Regions from separate parts of the Homo sapiens genome. Here all the other regions are linked to region 4. Evidence: promoter capture Hi-C in 16 types of primary human blood cells and fetal thymus (Javierre and others, 2016). All regions are on one chromosome and are shown on one strand. The core of a region is centred on a gene start or on the middle of the fragment in contact, and the rest is flanking DNA. Distances in the headings are between cores, read along the strand shown. Region 1 has its middle 3.6 kb from the start of AAK1. Region 2 overlaps AAK1 (AP2 associated kinase 1). Region 3 has its middle 40 kb from the start of AAK1. Region 4 holds the start of GMCL1 (germ cell-less 1, spermatogenesis associated). Region 5 overlaps AAK1 (AP2 associated kinase 1).

The links. The method cuts DNA at HindIII sites, captures the fragments that hold promoters and counts their contacts. A CHiCAGO score of 5 or more calls a contact.
Region 1: a fragment that was not itself captured here is called in contact with the fragment with the promoter of GMCL1 in region 4 in 6 of 17 cell types (total CD8 T cells, naive CD8 T cells, naive CD4 T cells and 3 more); the score reaches 7.9 in total CD8 T cells.
Region 2: a contact is called between a fragment that was not itself captured here and the fragment with the promoter of GMCL1 in region 4, in 2 of 17 cell types (naive CD8 T cells and total CD4 T cells). The highest score is 6.0, in naive CD8 T cells.
Region 3: a fragment that was not itself captured here is called in contact with the fragment with the promoter of GMCL1 in region 4 in 1 of 17 cell types (total CD8 T cells); the score reaches 6.0 in total CD8 T cells.
Region 5: a fragment that was not itself captured here is called in contact with the fragment with the promoter of GMCL1 in region 4 in 5 of 17 cell types (naive CD8 T cells, non-activated CD4 T cells, total CD4 T cells and 2 more); the score reaches 7.7 in naive CD8 T cells.

The regions. Positions count from the first base shown.
Region 1 is chr2:69,645,662-69,648,999 of GRCh38, forward strand. It overlaps a transcript of ANXA4 not described here. Among named protein-coding and RNA genes, the nearest start is that of AAK1, 3.6 kb to the left of the region's middle. The HindIII fragment of the contact is 9,897 bases long and covers 1-3,338 here.
Region 2 is chr2:69,602,486-69,605,780 of GRCh38, forward strand. All of the region lies in intron 2 of AAK1 (AP2 associated kinase 1), which reads right to left. Among named protein-coding and RNA genes, the nearest start is that of AAK1, 40 kb to the right of the region's middle. The HindIII fragment of the contact is 1,079 bases long and covers 832-1,910 here.
Region 3 is chr2:69,682,105-69,685,191 of GRCh38, forward strand. It overlaps a transcript of ANXA4 not described here. Among named protein-coding and RNA genes, the nearest start is that of AAK1, 40 kb to the left of the region's middle. The HindIII fragment of the contact is 1,579 bases long and covers 486-2,064 here.
Region 4 is chr2:69,828,140-69,831,626 of GRCh38, forward strand. GMCL1 (germ cell-less 1, spermatogenesis associated) reads left to right here and starts at 1,521. Exons shown (of 14, transcript NM_178439.5): 1 at 1,521-2,013. The coding sequence starts at 1,754. It overlaps LOC124906021 (a long non-coding RNA gene), which reads right to left and starts at 1,392. Exons shown (of 2, transcript XR_007086846.1): 1 at 1-1,392. RefSeq lists enhancers at 557-1,478, 873-962, 1,479-2,399 and silencers at 1,373-1,602, 1,983-2,062, 2,010-2,185. The HindIII fragment of the contact is 7,336 bases long and covers 1-3,487 here.
Region 5 is chr2:69,626,327-69,629,663 of GRCh38, forward strand. The region is part of intron 2 of AAK1 (AP2 associated kinase 1); the gene reads right to left. Among named protein-coding and RNA genes, the nearest start is that of AAK1, 16 kb to the right of the region's middle. The HindIII fragment of the contact is 6,287 bases long and covers 1-3,337 here.

The DNA of each region.
Region 1 (3,338 bases), core at 610-3,109, 180 kb before region 4:
AAGGTAGCTAACATGCATTTATTTAACACCCACGTGAATGCTCTGATCAGAAGCTGAGGGAAGAGGTTTAAAAAACAAAAAACATGACTAGATTCCTTGCCCTCCATTCCCTCACAGACTAATAGCAATTATAATGACAAATCCACAGTTTTTCATGCTTTACATATATTAAGTATATAATGCTCACAACCACCCTATGAAGTAAAGTACCATTATTATACTCATTTTATAGGTGGGTAAGTAAAGCAAAGAGATTAGTGACTTGCCCAAAGTCACACAGTAAATAGCAAAGCCAGGATTCAAACCCAAACATTTTAGTTTCAAAGCCCAGTTCTTACCTGGCTATACTAAACTGTCTACTTAGAGAGAGCAAACATTAACTGATTAAAAGACTCGTGAATAGTTAGAAACCCACGCACAAGCAGCATAGGACCAGGAGACAGGAAACCTCTTGCCACTTCATAGCTGGGATCCTAGACCACTTGTGTCACTGGGCTTATTATCTCAGCTATAAAACCAGAGCTCTTACAACTCTTAGTAATTTTTTAGTTCCTGAGTACAAAATAATGAACAGATCAGCCACTATAATCTCAAAACTATCACACTTTCTGTATAATTTGTCCCATGCTGCTTTGCATTCCTGTTCAACTTTTAATGTATATTGCTGTCTCAACCAAACACCTCAAAGCCAGAGAACCATCTTCTACTTATCTCCTTGGGCATCCAGTATAATAGTTTACATAGAGTGTGTTCTTAGCAGTACTTAAAGTAAATAATTTACTTTAAATGTGACACAAAACAGAGCTATCTGATTAAGGTGGAAAGATTGATTTGAAGTATCCTAGATGAATTTTGAACTAGGTGTGGAAGATGCTATGGGTAAATAGTCAAAGGGAGTGGGAAAAGAAAGTGCCATTTACTATTGTTACAATAGTGATCATATGACCGATGGAACAGACTCTTTGAGGCAATAAGATGCCAAATTATAAACAAGACCTAAGGCTGTGTCAGGCAAGGGTTAAGTCACACATCCCTACACTTGAAGAGTAAACCATCTTCTAACTGCCACAAGGTTTTTCTTTTTCTCTGGTAGCTAAATAGACACTGGCCTGGAGATAAGCAATATTGAATCAATTGTAGCTCACTGACCACTAGATGCTGACTAACTGTATCCCCCCAACCCCTGTTCCACAAACCATAACTATTTCTTTGATTGGACAAGAGACTGATTTCAGTAACATCCTAGTAAGAGACTACCAACCACAGACTGGTTCTGGCTGGTTTTCAGAGGCTGTGCACTGAGTGTCTTCATGTCCTTTGCTTCACCTAATTGTAATGCATTTAAATGTTAAATCTCCACCCCAAAGAGAACATAGGACATATGTAACATGCATGTTTGCTCACTATGCATGCATGTGCTGCCCCCCGCTTTGTGAATAATCAAAGCTCCTGTAACTTAAGTGTGTATTCTTAGCCAACTCATTTGGCATAAATTTGTGTTCCACTTTTTCCTCCCTCTAAATACCTGCTTTCAGTCTCTGCCAGAGTCTACACTTCCCAGCCTGTCAGGATCACCAGCCTGCAGGCTGCAACCCTTTATAAAAAGTAAAGCTCCCCTCTCCAAATTTATAAACCTTGGGATTCTTCAGTTAACACTATGTATCTTCCATATGCCAGTTATGGAATTTAAAAAATATATATATATTGTTTTATTGTTTTATTTTTATTTTATTTATTTATTTATTTATTTATTTATTTATTTTTTGAGACAGAGTCTCACTCTGTAGCTCAAGTTGTAGTGCAGTGGCGTGATCTCGTCTCACTGCAACCTCTGCCTCCCAGGCTCCAGCGATTCTTGTGCCTCAGCCTCCCGAGTAGCGGGGACTACAGGTGTGTGCCACCATGCCTGGCTAATTTTTTGTATTTTAGTAGAGACAGGGTTTCACCATGTTGCCCAGGGTGGTCTTGAACTCCTGAGCTCAGGCCATCCACCCACCTTGGCCTCCCAAAATGCTGGGATTACAGGCATGAGCCACCACGCCCAGCCACTTTTTAAAAAAAATAATTATATAAAAAATAGAGATGGGGTCTTGCTTTGTTGCCCAGGCTGACCTCAAACTCCTGGACTCAGGTGATCCTCCCACCTCAGCCTCCCAAAGTGCTGAGATTACAGATGTGAGCCACCGTGCCTGACTGATATTATTTTATTTAATCTTCATGGTTGCCTACAAAGTAGACAGTATTATCTATTTTATCAAAGAAAATACTGTTACACTATTATTCCCAATTTTATAGATGAACAATGAAGATTTTGTTAGTAGCAGATGAACATGTATGGTTTGTTAAGTTTGAAGGAAATGATTTGACCTGTGGTACACCTAAATCATGTTACCATAAACCCAGTGTGCTGTATCTTTGAGGAAATCAAAGGAAAGGGGACCACCATTAATTAAAATCCTTAACTGAGTCAAGCACTATGTTGGGTATTTAATCATACCATTTAACCCTCACAATACATCTATGAAGTGTGCATTACTTTTATTGGTGTGGAAACAGAGGCTGAGCAGGATTAGAGTCTGTCAACTATTTCTACAAAACATCTTAAAAAGGGCAGAGCCAAGACTGACCTCAAAACCCACATCATTTTCATTACACCATATGGGCTTTCTATGTTGCCGTCTTTTAGCGAAGTGGAACTTGTTAGAAATGCAAATTTTGGGGCCCCATCCAGACCTACTGAGTAAGAGGGAGGGGCAGAGGCAGCAGTTTCTGTTCACAAACCTTTCAGGTAATTCTAATACACATTCAAGTTTGAGAACCACTGTTTAGCAGAAGCGAACTTGTAAGAACCATGTCCTTTTTAAAAAAATGACAGTTCTTGCCCAGGCATGCTGGCTCATGCCCGTAATCCCAACACTTTGGGAGGCCGAGGCAGGTGGATCACTTGAGGTCAGGACTTCAAGACCAGCCTGGCCAACATGGTGAAACCCCGTCTCTATTAAAAATACAAAAATTAGCCGGGCATGGTGGCATGCACCTGTAATACCAGCTCGGGAGGCTGAGGCATGAGAATCACTTTAACCCAGGAGGCGGAGCTTGCAGTGAGCCGAGAGTGCACCACTGCACTCCATCTGGGGAGACAGAGTAAGACTCAGTCTCAAAAAAAAAAAAAAAAAAAAAAGACGTTTCTTGATTTTTTTAATTTTTAATTTTCTTTCTTTCTTTTCTTTTTTTTTTTTTTTGAGATGGAGTTTTGCTCTGTTACCCAGGCTGGAGTGCAATGGCACAATCTTGGCTCACCGCAACCTCCGCCTCCCAGGTTCAAGCGATTCTCCTGC
Region 2 (3,295 bases), core at 121-2,620, 230 kb before region 4:
TATGATAAAACAAATGTAGCAAAATATTAACCATCGGTGAATCTGGGTGAAGAGTATATGTGAATCTTGTGTATCATTTTTCTACTGTTTATGTAACTGAAATTATTTCAAAATGAAATTTTTAATTAAGAAAAGAAAAGGACAAGATGAGTGAAAAGTCCAGCCCCCTGAGGCGCTCCTGACCACAGAGACTCAGGGTTCCAAGGCTGGCCTTCCTCCTTTGATACTGCAGTGACAAACAGGATGAGCAAAGACTTCAGAGCTGTGCAGATCTGGGTTCCAATCATTGTGCCTCACATAAACTAAGCTCACTAAAAAAAGATGGTATTTATTATTTCAAATTTTTAAAAAGCAACAGAAAAATATGAAACGCTTCCTCATTTATTTTATGGAGCAAGTTAAGTACAGCCCTAATACCAAAACTCTGGCATTCAGTACAGGTGAAAAGAAAACTATGTATTATCCCATTTACAAATTACTAGTAAATTGAATCAGGCAGTACATTAAAAGAATAAGACACCATGGCAAAATCAAGTTGGTTCAAAAAAGTAAGGATGAATGGATGGAGGGATGGACAAATATCAAGAAATTCATTAAAATAATTTATCAGTTATGGAAGTCAAAAAAGATAAAGACTTAGAAATTCAATAAAGAGGCATTTTCAACATTTGAACATCTTTTCCTGATTTTTAAATGTTTATTTTTCCAGTGGGACTGTTTATAACTTTTCTGATTATAAAAGTAATCATGATTATTGTAAAAATTTCCAAGTAAGGCAAAAGTGGGTAGAATAGAGTTTCCTCACAGTCCATGACACTGTGGAGTCTTTCAAGCTTGTGAAAGCATCTTTACAAGTAGGTAGATCACGAGCCAGCACGCAAGAAACAGAGGAGAGAGAGAGAGAGAACCCTATTCTGAGAATAAAAGGCAATTCCTCTGTTAGCTTGTGGGCTCTCACAAAGCATACCACTGATAAAATGGAGTCACACTATCGCCTCCCTTTCCATGATCTTCCCCCTCCTGCCTAACCAGCCATCACTGCAGAAGGTCGCAAATCCACATGTGAGTCACTTCAGAGCAGCTCTCCTCACATGTAGGTTCTCACCACTCAGATACTATCCATCCTCAGCTATGAAGGGCTCTGTGTAGAAAGATAAGAGGGTAAAAAATAAAAAATTTTAAGAGAGAACATTTAGGTATACAATTTAAAAGATGGGGAAATTAGAGAATTAAGGAGATACTGTGCAGAATTAAAATCATCATCATCATCATCATCATCATCTGCTTTGCAGGCTACACAGCGTAAGGAGCATATTATTTAGAGAACATTTGTGTTTAAATTCTCTGGTGTTTCAGGAGTTGGCAGCAGGTTTTCAGAACTCAGACATCATTTGAGTCATGGACAGAATTGGAAACCTGATGCACTGATGCTGTTTTCTATCTGTGGCTGAAAAATGAGGTATTTTCCGATAATAAGAGATATAGAATCCAAGAGGAAGCATACCCACTTCCAGTTCCAAATAACTTTCCTTGCAAAAGGCAAAGATCCTTCTGAAACTCGGTTAGTTAGAGAGTCTGATCTCATCCCTTCAGAACAACCAGAGCTCAAGGCTGCAGTAACCTGACTCTCCAGTGTTATTTTGACCAACTTCATAGAAACAAAAGCTGCCTTTGATGCACCTCAATGCCTAGCCACCTCACCAGAGAATCAAATATTAAAAATTAATCAGGCTGGCCAGACACCATTCAATGTCAGGCAGCTTTACACAGGAGGTGGAGCTCTGGGGTGACGTAGAGTGAATGCTTATCTTTCGTGTTGTCATGAACTTCTGTGATTTAGCTCACTGCCTATTTCTTCTCCTGGTCATGTCTAATTCTGGGTGGGCAGCTCTGCAGAGGCTGAGCAGCCAAGCTTCCATGTGGCCTCATTGCTTTCATGCTTCTTCTCCTCTCCAACTGTTTCTCTCCTCCTCTAGGGCACGACACCTCCAAATGCTCATTGCTAACTCACCCTCTTACCTTCTTGCCCCACCATAGTATCAGTGGACAAAATCCACAAGCTCGCAAGGTTTAAAGTCATCACCTCTATTCTGAAGCAGACACTGAAGGAACATACGAGCTGACACAGGGGTGGGATTTCACAGGATGGAGAAGGAACAGAGGGACACTCCAGGCTGAGGCAGAGACTTTAAAAACATGCTGAGGATGACTGGGGAAGTGGCAAGCGGTCCAGTGGGGCTGCACCTTAGGGTCCAATACGTCTCTAGCTCTGGCACTGCTTCTCCCGGGTGCCACACCCCAACTGCACCCCAGCCTCTCTGCATGGAGTCCCTCAGATACCTCACACTAAACATACCCTAGCCAAAACCTTTCTCCTTCTAGACTCTAAATTTTGGCTAATGGAGCCACCATGCTTTCAGTCAAGCTGAAAACTTAAGTCACCTCAGACTCTTCCCTCTCTGTCTCAACACACAGTACTTCAACAATTTGCATCAATGCTTCTCCAAAATGCTCTTGAATCCATTCCCTACTCTCAATTCCTCCTAGCACTAATTTCAGCCTTATGTCTCACCCGGGCTTTTACAGAGCCCCAGCATGTGCCACACAAACTCCCACTCTTCCCTGGAGTCAGCCCAGTCCTTGTGTCACTATGAAGCCCTCCCTACCCCAGCAGTTTGTCCCCTTTTTCCTTGCTCTCACCTTGCTGTGTACCTACCTTTACTACTAAAAGCCAGCACACAGAATGATCACTACTTAAAACTTGTTTCCTCCATTCAACAACAAATTTCTCAAGGGTAGACACTGTGTTTTGTAACTTCTGAAAAAGATGCTTCCCAAGCATCTTACATGGTATCCGAACATAGCATTTCACAATGAAATCATGGTAAACTAGTGGAAACCCTAACCATTCTCCTTGCTCTGCCTTTTCCTTCTTATGCATTTTTTCTAACTTTTTATTTTGAATTAAGTATAGATTCACAGGAAGTTGCGAAAATAGTGCAGAGGAGATCCACGTACCCTTCATCCAGTTTCCCCCAATGGTGACATCTGACATAACTATGGTACAACGTCAAAACCAGGAAACTGACATTGGCACAATCCACAGACCTTATTCACTCCAGGCTGAGGCAGAGACTTAAAAAACATGCTGAGGATGTTTTACACCAGTTTTACATGCACTCATATGTATGTGTAGTTGTATGTAAATTTATAATGTGTAGATGTGTGTAACCACAACCACAGTCAGGATACAGAACTGTTCCATCACCAAAAAGATCCCTTATGCTGCCTCTTT
Region 3 (3,087 bases), core at 25-2,524, 150 kb before region 4:
GCCTCCCAAAGTGCTGGGACTACAGGAGTGAGCCACCATGCCTGGCCCGTTCTTGCTTTTCCAGTTCCTTGAAGGCATCTTTAGATCATTTATTTGAAATCTTCCTACTTTTTTGATGTAGGTGTTTATTGATATAAACTCCCCTCTTAGCACTGCTTTTGCTGTATCCCATAGGTTTTCGTACGTTCTATGTCAATTTCCATTTGTTTCAATAAATTTTTTTTAAATTTTCTTTAAGATATTTTACGTTTCTTCTATGTTGTGGAATCTATTGAGTTTTACTTTATGATTCATCCTTGCTTTTTAAAACATTTAATTTTATTTAATGGTTCAGTAATAATAAAGATACCCTTTTACATGTTTACAGTACCTCATTGTTTACATACACTATTTCAAGCTTTTGGAATAGGGACAACTAAAACAGATTCTTGTGTAAATGAGTTTCTTTATATAACTTCACATTCTTTATGTAATGGTTCTTTTGAAGCTTAACAAGTTCTTTCTCAACAACTGTATTTTTTTAATGTGGAATTGACTAAGTATATGAAAATATGAAATAAACAAAATAAAATGGAAAACTATGAGGTCCTTAGAAGTCACATTACATCCCTATATTTGGTGACATTTAAAGAGATGAATGACATCATTGAGAAGTAAGGAGAAATACAGTGCAGCAAATCAAGAACATGCCACTCATGTAAGAGTGAACATCTATCTCCAGGCATGAGAAAGGTCTAGAGAGTTCTTAACAAAATGCTGTCAGTGTTTATTTCTCAGTCTTGAGACGTCAGATGATTTTTATGATCTTCTTTGTGCTTTTCTAATTTGTTTAATATTTTACAGTAAGCATGTATCATTTTTACTAAAATATCCACGTTATTGTTTAAAACAGGAACAAAATTTTTCTACATGCACAAGGATAATAGTATTTGTCTATATTTTTTTCTGGTCTTTTAATTAAGTGTTTATACACACAGAGAGACAGGAATAAAGTTTTCCTTAGCATTTAAATAATTTCCAAGAAGTATATACATTCCTACATATGGGTTAAATAAACACACATATGTCAATAAACATATATTCTAACAAACTCAGGCCTGCTAAATGCGGCTAAAAGTTCCCAGTGAAAAGAACTCTTAGGTGAGCTATATTTTCTAATCTGCAGACCCTCCTACTGCATAACTCTGGATGATGTCATACAAACCTCTTCCTGCATCTGGGACTCTTTCCAGCTGCTACATGTGGGAGCTTCCCGTTTTTGTTCTAATTGAGTGATGTTTACTGGAAATGGAGTCTGCTAATAAGATCTCAGTTCAGATAGCTTTGTGGGGACAGGAAGAATGATTGTGAGATGAATTTGGCCAAAAACCTTTACTTTCTCCCTTGTCATTATCTTGTTTTGATAGGTTGGCTTAGTTTTGTTTTGAAATTACCTCTTCTGAGAAACCAAAGAGGAACGATATGCGCTGTCTTCTTCTTCCTCCTCCTCCTCCTCCTTTTCCTCTTCCTACCAAGACTCCCAACTCAGACTGTTTTTCAGTCTGTCCCTCCATACATACCTGCACACTCACACATCTACTAGAGAGTATATGGAGACAGCCAAGAGCCCTTAGAAAGATAGCTGGGTAATGTACTACTCTGTTCTCTTGAATTTGGATGGAACTTATGACAACACTTAGATGTGAACAAATAAGGCAAGAGAATTTGTCCCAGATTGCACAGCTGGTTATGGCAGAACAAAGCGGTGGTGAACCTAGATTTCATATCTCCTAGCTCAGGGCCTCTGGATTAAAACCCATAAACATTGTTCACATTTTTTTGGAACTATGCATAAGGGCAACTTAGAGAGTTCCAGGTAAGAGAATGCAGCATAACAAGAGTTGATTGTTTTAAGTTGTGTTATGTTAAAGATCAGCTAAGTAAAATTAAAGAGAAAAGCTGCTAAATATACTGAATTATTTCATTTTTGTGGATCTCCTTGATTGTGATTTGCGAGCTCAGAAGTATTAACAGTTTTTCTCAAAAATTTTAAGATGAAAAATTCTCAAGTCCAATTAATTGAAAAGCTTAAGACTACTCTATACCATGCTTCACTTTAGAAAGTAGGGAGCTTGTTGCAAATTCAAACAAGGATGTGGTGTCACAACTCATGAAAGGAATCTCTTATCAAATATCTATCCTACCATCAAATTGCCATTACATCTGCCCGAATGTACATGGGACACAGTTGCGTCAGAAAGGCTAAAGCTCCAAATAAGTTCACATTATTCTGAAACTATCAGATTATGTGATGGATATAATTTGGGTGTTACAGTCTTTGTAGTAAAGTTTGAGGAATGACACCAGGTATGGTCGAGTGCAGTGGCTCATGCCTATAAGATGAGCCTAGGCAACATGGTGAGATCCCATCTCTACAAAAAATACAAAAATTATCCAGGCATGGTGGGGTGGTGTGCACCTGTAGTCCCAGCTACTCAGGAGGTTCCAGTGGGAGGATTACTTGAAACCAGGAGGTTGAGACTGTAGTGAGCCATGTTTGTGCCACTGTACTCCAGCCTGGGCAACAGAGCAAGACTGTCTCAAAAAAAAAAAAAAAAGAAAGAAAGAGAAAAAAAAACCCCATCAGGTAAAATGTAGGGCCACTGTCAATGGGGGACATAGAGAAAACAGAGATCTTCAATTCTCTTCTGCTTCTAACTTTCGGGACAAGGACATTTTTTCTCCACATGTTATCAGTAAGGTGAGGAGAAATAGAGAAAGAGCATAAACTTTGGTAAGCGAAGATAGAAGCCCAAGATGGAATAATAGAGTGAGAAAGAGCCCAAAGCTGCTCCAAGTGATTTCAAGTCCCCAGTTTTGAAGAATGATGTCTTTGGGTCTTGAGAAAACATTGTTGTGGGATCACCAACAATCGTCAGGGATATTTGGGGCATCATAGAGAATAGGAGAGATTCCAGAAGACTGGTAACAGTGGAGTATTCTGATTTTCAGAAAGAGAAAGCAGAGCCAGAAAAAAATGTAGATAATGGTCTGTAACCTCAATCTCAGGCCAGAGTCTAGAAGGGGGGATTATTAGAGGAACAGTTT
Region 4 (3,487 bases), core at 271-2,770:
TGTCTCATGGTGGTCCACATCTGCTCCATGGGAAACACCTGCACGTTCTTTGTGCTGGCAAATTCTGTGTATGCAAGCTGATCCCTCTGCAGCCATTATTCTCCGCCTCCCACCTCCACCCCAAGCTGCCTCGGCTAGCCTCTCTCGGTTCAGATTTCTCATGCATGAATCAGACATTAGTCCACGGGGACCCTCAAACTACGTATACTGCCAATGGGAGTCTAAATTGGTACCTTGATGCAATCAACCCAGAGAGCAATTTGGTAATAGCTAACAAAGTTGCAGATTTCGCAGCAAATTCACTTTTGGGAATCTGCTTGGTGAATCCATTGCACATGATGTTCATTGCTGCTCTGTAAGGCCGTTAAAGTAGAAATAACCTCTCTCACTAAGGAATGTAAAAACAAATATGGGTCAGTCATACAATGAGCAGTGAAAATTATCTAGCGATTGACCAAATGGATAAATCTTGAGAGTATAATTTTGAGAGAGGAGAAAGGTGCACAATGAGAGGTACAACTATGATTCCATTCCATGATATGTCTAAACATGCAAAAGAAAATATTATTTATGGGTATGCATATAAGGACATGCATGGACATGATATACAACATTCTCAGCACAGTGATTGCCACTGGGGAGGGAGACAGAATGAGATGGAGGAGGTACGCAGGGGCTTCTGCCTATATGTATTGTTCTATTTAAAAAAGAATGAATCATTGATTACACCTCAATAAAGCTGGGAGGAAAAAAGAATGAAAGCAAGTCTGATAAAATTTCAAGCTAGTGGTCGGTCCACAGGAATCTGTATTACTCTATTTGAAATATTTTCATTATTTTACTTAAAAAGTAACAGAAGGGAGTCAGGGAATGAACGCTGGCTGTCCGGAGTCCATCACAAGAGCTGCTACTACTCCAAGCAGACACTAGTAAATTTTGCTAGGGCCTCCTGAAGGCACTTTTGAGTCCAGACAGTCATGGTGCCAGACCCTATTCGGACATCCCACTGGCACTTGAGAGGAAAGGAAAGGAGTGCCGGGAACGTTCCCATAACTTAACGGGTTCCATTCACGTCTACAGCAGGGGAGGGCTCATGTTAAGGAAGCCCAGGAATCCAGCATATCGCCTCATCCTAGGGCCCCCTCTCACAGGAGGCCACGCCCAAGCAAGCAGAGCGTGGCCCCAGCAAGCGCCGAGCTCCCGCAAGGAGACCAAATAGCTTCGGGGTTTTGCCACTAGCTTAGCACAGGCCCATAAGCACCGGGGACTCAAGGCACCTTTGTAGAAACAATGAGTGACTGGAGTCCCAGGTCTTGCCACTACAGAGGCGCGTATGAACCACGGTTTAACACTACGTCTACGCCGAAGTTCGGGTTAGTCAGAGGCCACGCCCACCGCAGGCCCGAAAACACCAGCCTGCACTGGCGCGCCGGATTGTGCGCAGGCTCCACCTGCCACGCACGCACGCCTTGCCCCGCCCCTTCCGGAGGCTCGCCGTACGCATGCGCCCTCCGTCCCGCGCTTTGTTGCGAAAGCGAGGGGGCGAGGTGCTGCGGTGCTAGAGCGCGGCGCGACCGGACGCTGCGGGCGGGGAAGAGGATGGAGACTGTGGCGTCCGCTGCAACGGTTGGGGCTGCGCGTGAGAAGGTGGCGGTGTAGGCACCTGCGCTCGGGGAAGGCTGGCGGCGGCGGCCGAGCCATGGCGGGAGACCCCCTTCTCTGGGCTCCCTGAAGTCTCGGGGAGCCGTGACCCATGGGATCGTTGAGCAGCCGGGTGCTGCGCCAGCCAAGACCAGCCCTTGCCCAGCAGGCGCAGGGTGCCAGGGCGGGGGGCTCGGCCCGGAGGCCGGACACTGGAGACGATGCGGCGGGCCACGGATTCTGTTACTGTGCGGGCAGCCACAAGCGCAAGCGGAGCAGCGGGTCCTTCTGCTACTGTCACCCTGACTCGGAGACGGACGAGGATGAGGAGGAGGGGGACGAGCAGCAGCGGCTCCTCAACACCCCTCGAAGGTACGTGGGGGCACGCACCCGCGCGGACCCGGACCCGCACCTGTTGGGCCTGGGGCCGAGCCGGCGCCTCGTGCGCTTGCGGGGTGCAGCGCTCCCCAGCCTATGGAGAGGGGACGTGCCCTTGACAGGGTGAATGTGGAAGCCGGCCCGATGCGGGGCGGACTGGGGAGCGCCTTGGGAGACGCCAGGTGTTCCGCATTTTCAACCACAGACGCTTCCAGGGTGTTGTTACAGCCCCAAGATGAGGATGAGAAACGCCAAGCCCGAGCTCGCGTCTCGTTAAACCTTAGAGACGCCCGGCTGGCTGGCCTTCCCAGTCCACCTTTGCCCTCTCAAGTGGGTAGCCGCAGAGTAAGTTGTTTTGCATCCGGTTGCCTTAGTACAGACACTAAATGTAATCTCTGAAATAGGCACTCTTATTGTCGCCCACTCAGTGGAGGGTAAGTAATTGCACACAGGAGTTCTTGTTAATTGTAAAGGTGAAGTTTATCAATAGTGTACATTTGTTCCTAACTAGGAACAGAGTCTGTGCAAGTTTCTAGTAGTTGATGAAGTCGTTGACCGTGGATGTACTGTATGTAGGGCGGTGCTGCTGCAGCTTGTTTAACCCCTTTTTTTTTTTTTTTTGGATGAGTTGAAAGATGGAATATTGACTTGTGACCTGGAATGTAGTTTATAGGTAGAATATATGCTTACACAAACAATTTGGTTTTTCTGCTTTTGTTTTTAAAGGTTATTTGGTAGGGTCACACATGAAATTTTTTAAATGATTTCTTTTTCTTTTTGAGACAGAGCCTTGCTCTGTCACTCAGGCCGGAGTGCAGTGGTGCGATCTCAACTCACTGCAACCTCCACCTCCTGGTTCAAGCGATTCTTGTGCCTCAGCCTCCCGAGTAGCTGGGACTACCGGCGCGCACCACCACGCCTGGCTAATGTTTTCTGTTTTTAGTAGAGACAGGTTTCATCGTGTTGGCCAGGCTTGTCTCAAATTCCCGACCTCAGGTGATCTGCTGGCCTCAGCCTCCCAAAGTGCTGGAATTATAGGCGTGAGCCACTGCGCACCCGGCCTAAAATTAAACTTTAAAAGCAGATTCAAAAAGGTTTTGCTATACAAGTGTTATATATTGTAAAAAAGGAATCATAGATTAAAAACTTAATAGTTTGGTTTATAAAACCTTTTGTACCTTTTTTTGTATGAATATTTGTATTTATTATACAAAAATGTACCCCTACTGTGAATACTATTCAGTAACTTTTTTAATTGTTTGTTTGATTTTTGGAGCTTTTTTCTAAAGGAGTCTCACTATATTGCCCAGGCTGGTCTCAAACGCCTGGGTTGAAGCGATCCTCCCACCTAAGCCTCCCAAAGGGCTGAGATTACAGGTGTGAGCCACCATGCCTGACCCTGTAACCTTTTTGAAGCGTCAGTGTAGCATAGTTTTTTTTTCCTTTGGAAAAATTTTTCTCTATTTTG
Region 5 (3,337 bases), core at 770-3,269, 200 kb before region 4:
ATCATTTCACTGCCACCTGGACTTCAGTCACTGCTCCACAGAAACTGCTAACGAAGCTCACAAATTACCTCCATATTTCCAAATCCAATTAACACTTATCTTGACGTCTGTAATGAGTTAACACTCTGAAGTGTCCATTCCTTCCATTTTAAAATTAAATTAATTAATTATTATTATTATTATTTTTTTTTGAGACAGGGTCTCACTCTGTCTCCCAGCCTGGAGTGAGGTGGCGCGATCACAGCTCACTGTAGCTTCAACCTCCCAGGCTCAAGCGATCTTCCCACCTCAGCCTCCTAAGTAGGTGGGACTATAGGTGCATTCCACCATGCCTGGCTTTTTTTTTTTTTTTTTGTAGAGACAGGGTTTTGCCATGTTGCCCAGACTGGTCTTGAACTCCTGGGCTCAAGCAATCCCCCTGCCTTGGCCTCTCAAAGTGCTGGGATTATAGGCATGGGCCACCAGGGCACTCGGCCCCTTCTTCTTTTAATTTTACTTAGGATTTATTTTCGTCACTTCACATCCTCCTGATTCTACCGTCAATCATTCTTTCTGCCTCCTTCATGTGCCTACTCTTTCATTCAACTGGTTTCTACTGAGCTCTGCAGATGTGCCAGGCACTCACTATTCTAGACACTGGGGATCCAGCCATGAACAAGTCAGACAAGATTCTCATGGAGGCCAGGCATGGTGGCTCACAATTATAATCCCAGCACTTTGGGAGGCCGAGGCGGGTGGATCTCCTGAGGTCAGGAGTTCGAGACCAGCCTGGCCAATATGGTGAAACCCCCGTCTCTACTAAAAATACAAAAATTAGCTAGGCGTGGTGGCGGGCGCCTGTAGTCCCAGCTACTAGGAAGGCTGAGGCAGGAGAATCGCTTGAACCCAGGAGACGGAGGTTGCAGTGAGCCGAGACTGCACCATTACACTCCAGCCTGGGTGACAGAGTGAGACTCTGTCTCAAAAAGAGAAAAAAAAAAAAAAAGATTCTCATGGAGCTGAAATTCTAGTGGGGGGAGTGGGAGTGATAAATAAATAATAAGCAAGAAAATCTGCTGATACATGCTACACGGTGAAATAAAACAGGATTGGTTCCTTACACTGGGCGGTAAAGGACAGCCTCTATGAAGTGGGATTTAAGTGAGCTCTGAATGACAAAAAGCCAACCAAGGGAAGACAAGAAGGAAGAACATTCCAGGAAAAGGCACCAGCCAAGCCTTAGACACTAAAGAAGAAACTATGTTCTATGCTCAAAAAAGATGAACAAGAATCACTGTGACTAAAAAGCAAGTGGTTGAGGGGAAGAGAGACACAAGCTATTGTAGGGGTTTGCAGGTCAGTGTGAGGAGTTTGGATTTTATTCCAGGTGGACTCCTCTTCCTCCACACAGTCTCCTTATGAGATCTCACTCCATTTCAGTTTTCATTCCTATCTTGTGGTTTTATGACAACTCCCACTCCAACTTTTCTCTACAATGCAGGCCAGTCCTATGCAACAGCATCCTGAACTACATCCATACTTGGATTTCCACTGATGGCTCATTAAAAAGTCCCTAACTGAAGCCCGTCTCTTTTCCTCAAACACTATTCTTTCTTCTTTTTATTGACACCATTATCTACCCAGTCACTTAAGCCAGTAGCCCAAGATCCAATCTAGCTTTCTGTCATCTGCAACATCTAATTATTAACACTGATTTTTCTAAGTTTAAGGTAAAGATATAGAAAGAAGGAAAGCAGAAAAAAAGGAATGGAATCTTTCACCTCCAGTAAGAATGATACCTCCCTGTGAGGACCATACGTAGGCCAAGGTTAACAATCCACCTCAAAACTATTGTCTTGGCTGGGCGTGGTGGCTCACGCCTGTAATCCTGGCACTTTGGGAGGCCGAGGTGGGAGGACTGCTTAAAACCAGAAGTTTGAGACCAGCCTGGGCAACATAGCAAAACCCTGTTTCTTTTCTTTTTTTTTTTAATGTTTTCTTATCCCAGCTACATAGGTCTAACATTTCCGTCTCATCAACCCAATCTCATTCTCCCTCCCAAATAGTGTCAACAAAAACCACAGAACTTAAAAACCATGTTTGCACTAGAAGAGACCTTCAAGATCACCCGGTGATCTCCTTATTCACATAAGACAAGCTCAGAGAGGGGAAGTGATATATCCAAGATCACTGAAGAGACCAGATAACCTACTTCCCTATCTCATACAGTTGTTCATTTGTGTTCTGTGAGCTAACCCTAGAAGCAGGATTTGATGGTAGACTTGAACAACACTCTGTCATACCACCTTAAAAATCACCACATAATTGCTGGGTGAGTAGACAGCCACTTAAATAACCCATTTGATGTTATACTGATTCTAACACTATGATTTTAAAAGAGAAAGGAATACTTCATCTTCTGAGGAAGTCTCTATGATCTAAAATTAACTTTTTTCAAGGAAATTCTCATCATTGGTGAGCGAGCCACCTAGAGCTGACCTTTCAAAAATGCTGTGGAGCTCACAGCAAACCACCACGCAGAATTTGCTGTTGATTGCTCTTTTCACTCCTCCTCTCTGAAACTAGCAAGAACAGGAAGAAATATGTTTGTTCCCAGAGGTACATACAGTACTCAACTACAGGTACCACCTCTCTAGACTCATTTTATAACTCAGCTGCTTAATGCCATATTTATCAGTCTTTTAAAAACCATATCTTCTTTGATAAATATGAAAATCTCACGTCTTCTCCACACTCCGACCTCTTAAGTCTATAATGTGCCTCTTTAGAGGGTATACAGCCAATCCCCATCTTCTTTGAGGTTCTCTCCTTTTCTGGCTGGACCTGGAGCCAATCTATGCATTTTCAAATTATATATTCCCTTCCTATTTGTGACCTGTCTGCATGCTCACTACCCCAAATACAAGTTAAAAATCACTGTCCTAATTTACTGCAGGCCAATGCCAATCATCAACTAGAAAATGAATGTATGCTTTGCTTAAAGATGAATTTCAGTAATATCTGAGTTTTTGACACATGAGCTAATTGTCTCCATCTTTACAGTATAGCATTTAAATGGTTTAGAGTTCCTTTATATAGCTAAGATACACCCTATATCTCTACTTTTGAGATCAATGGTACCAGACGCCAATAATTTAATCCAATCAATAGAGATTCACATGGCTTTCTGAAAGATGTTCTACTTTGCTTTGGATTTTGTTATTTCTCAACTTTACTGAAACTCTATAAGATTCAATAGTTCTTATTGTAATAAGCGAGGTGAAGTCCTCAAACACAGATCTATTATACGATTGGAATAGGGATAAATAAGGGAGGTTTGTATATCTCAAATCCGTCT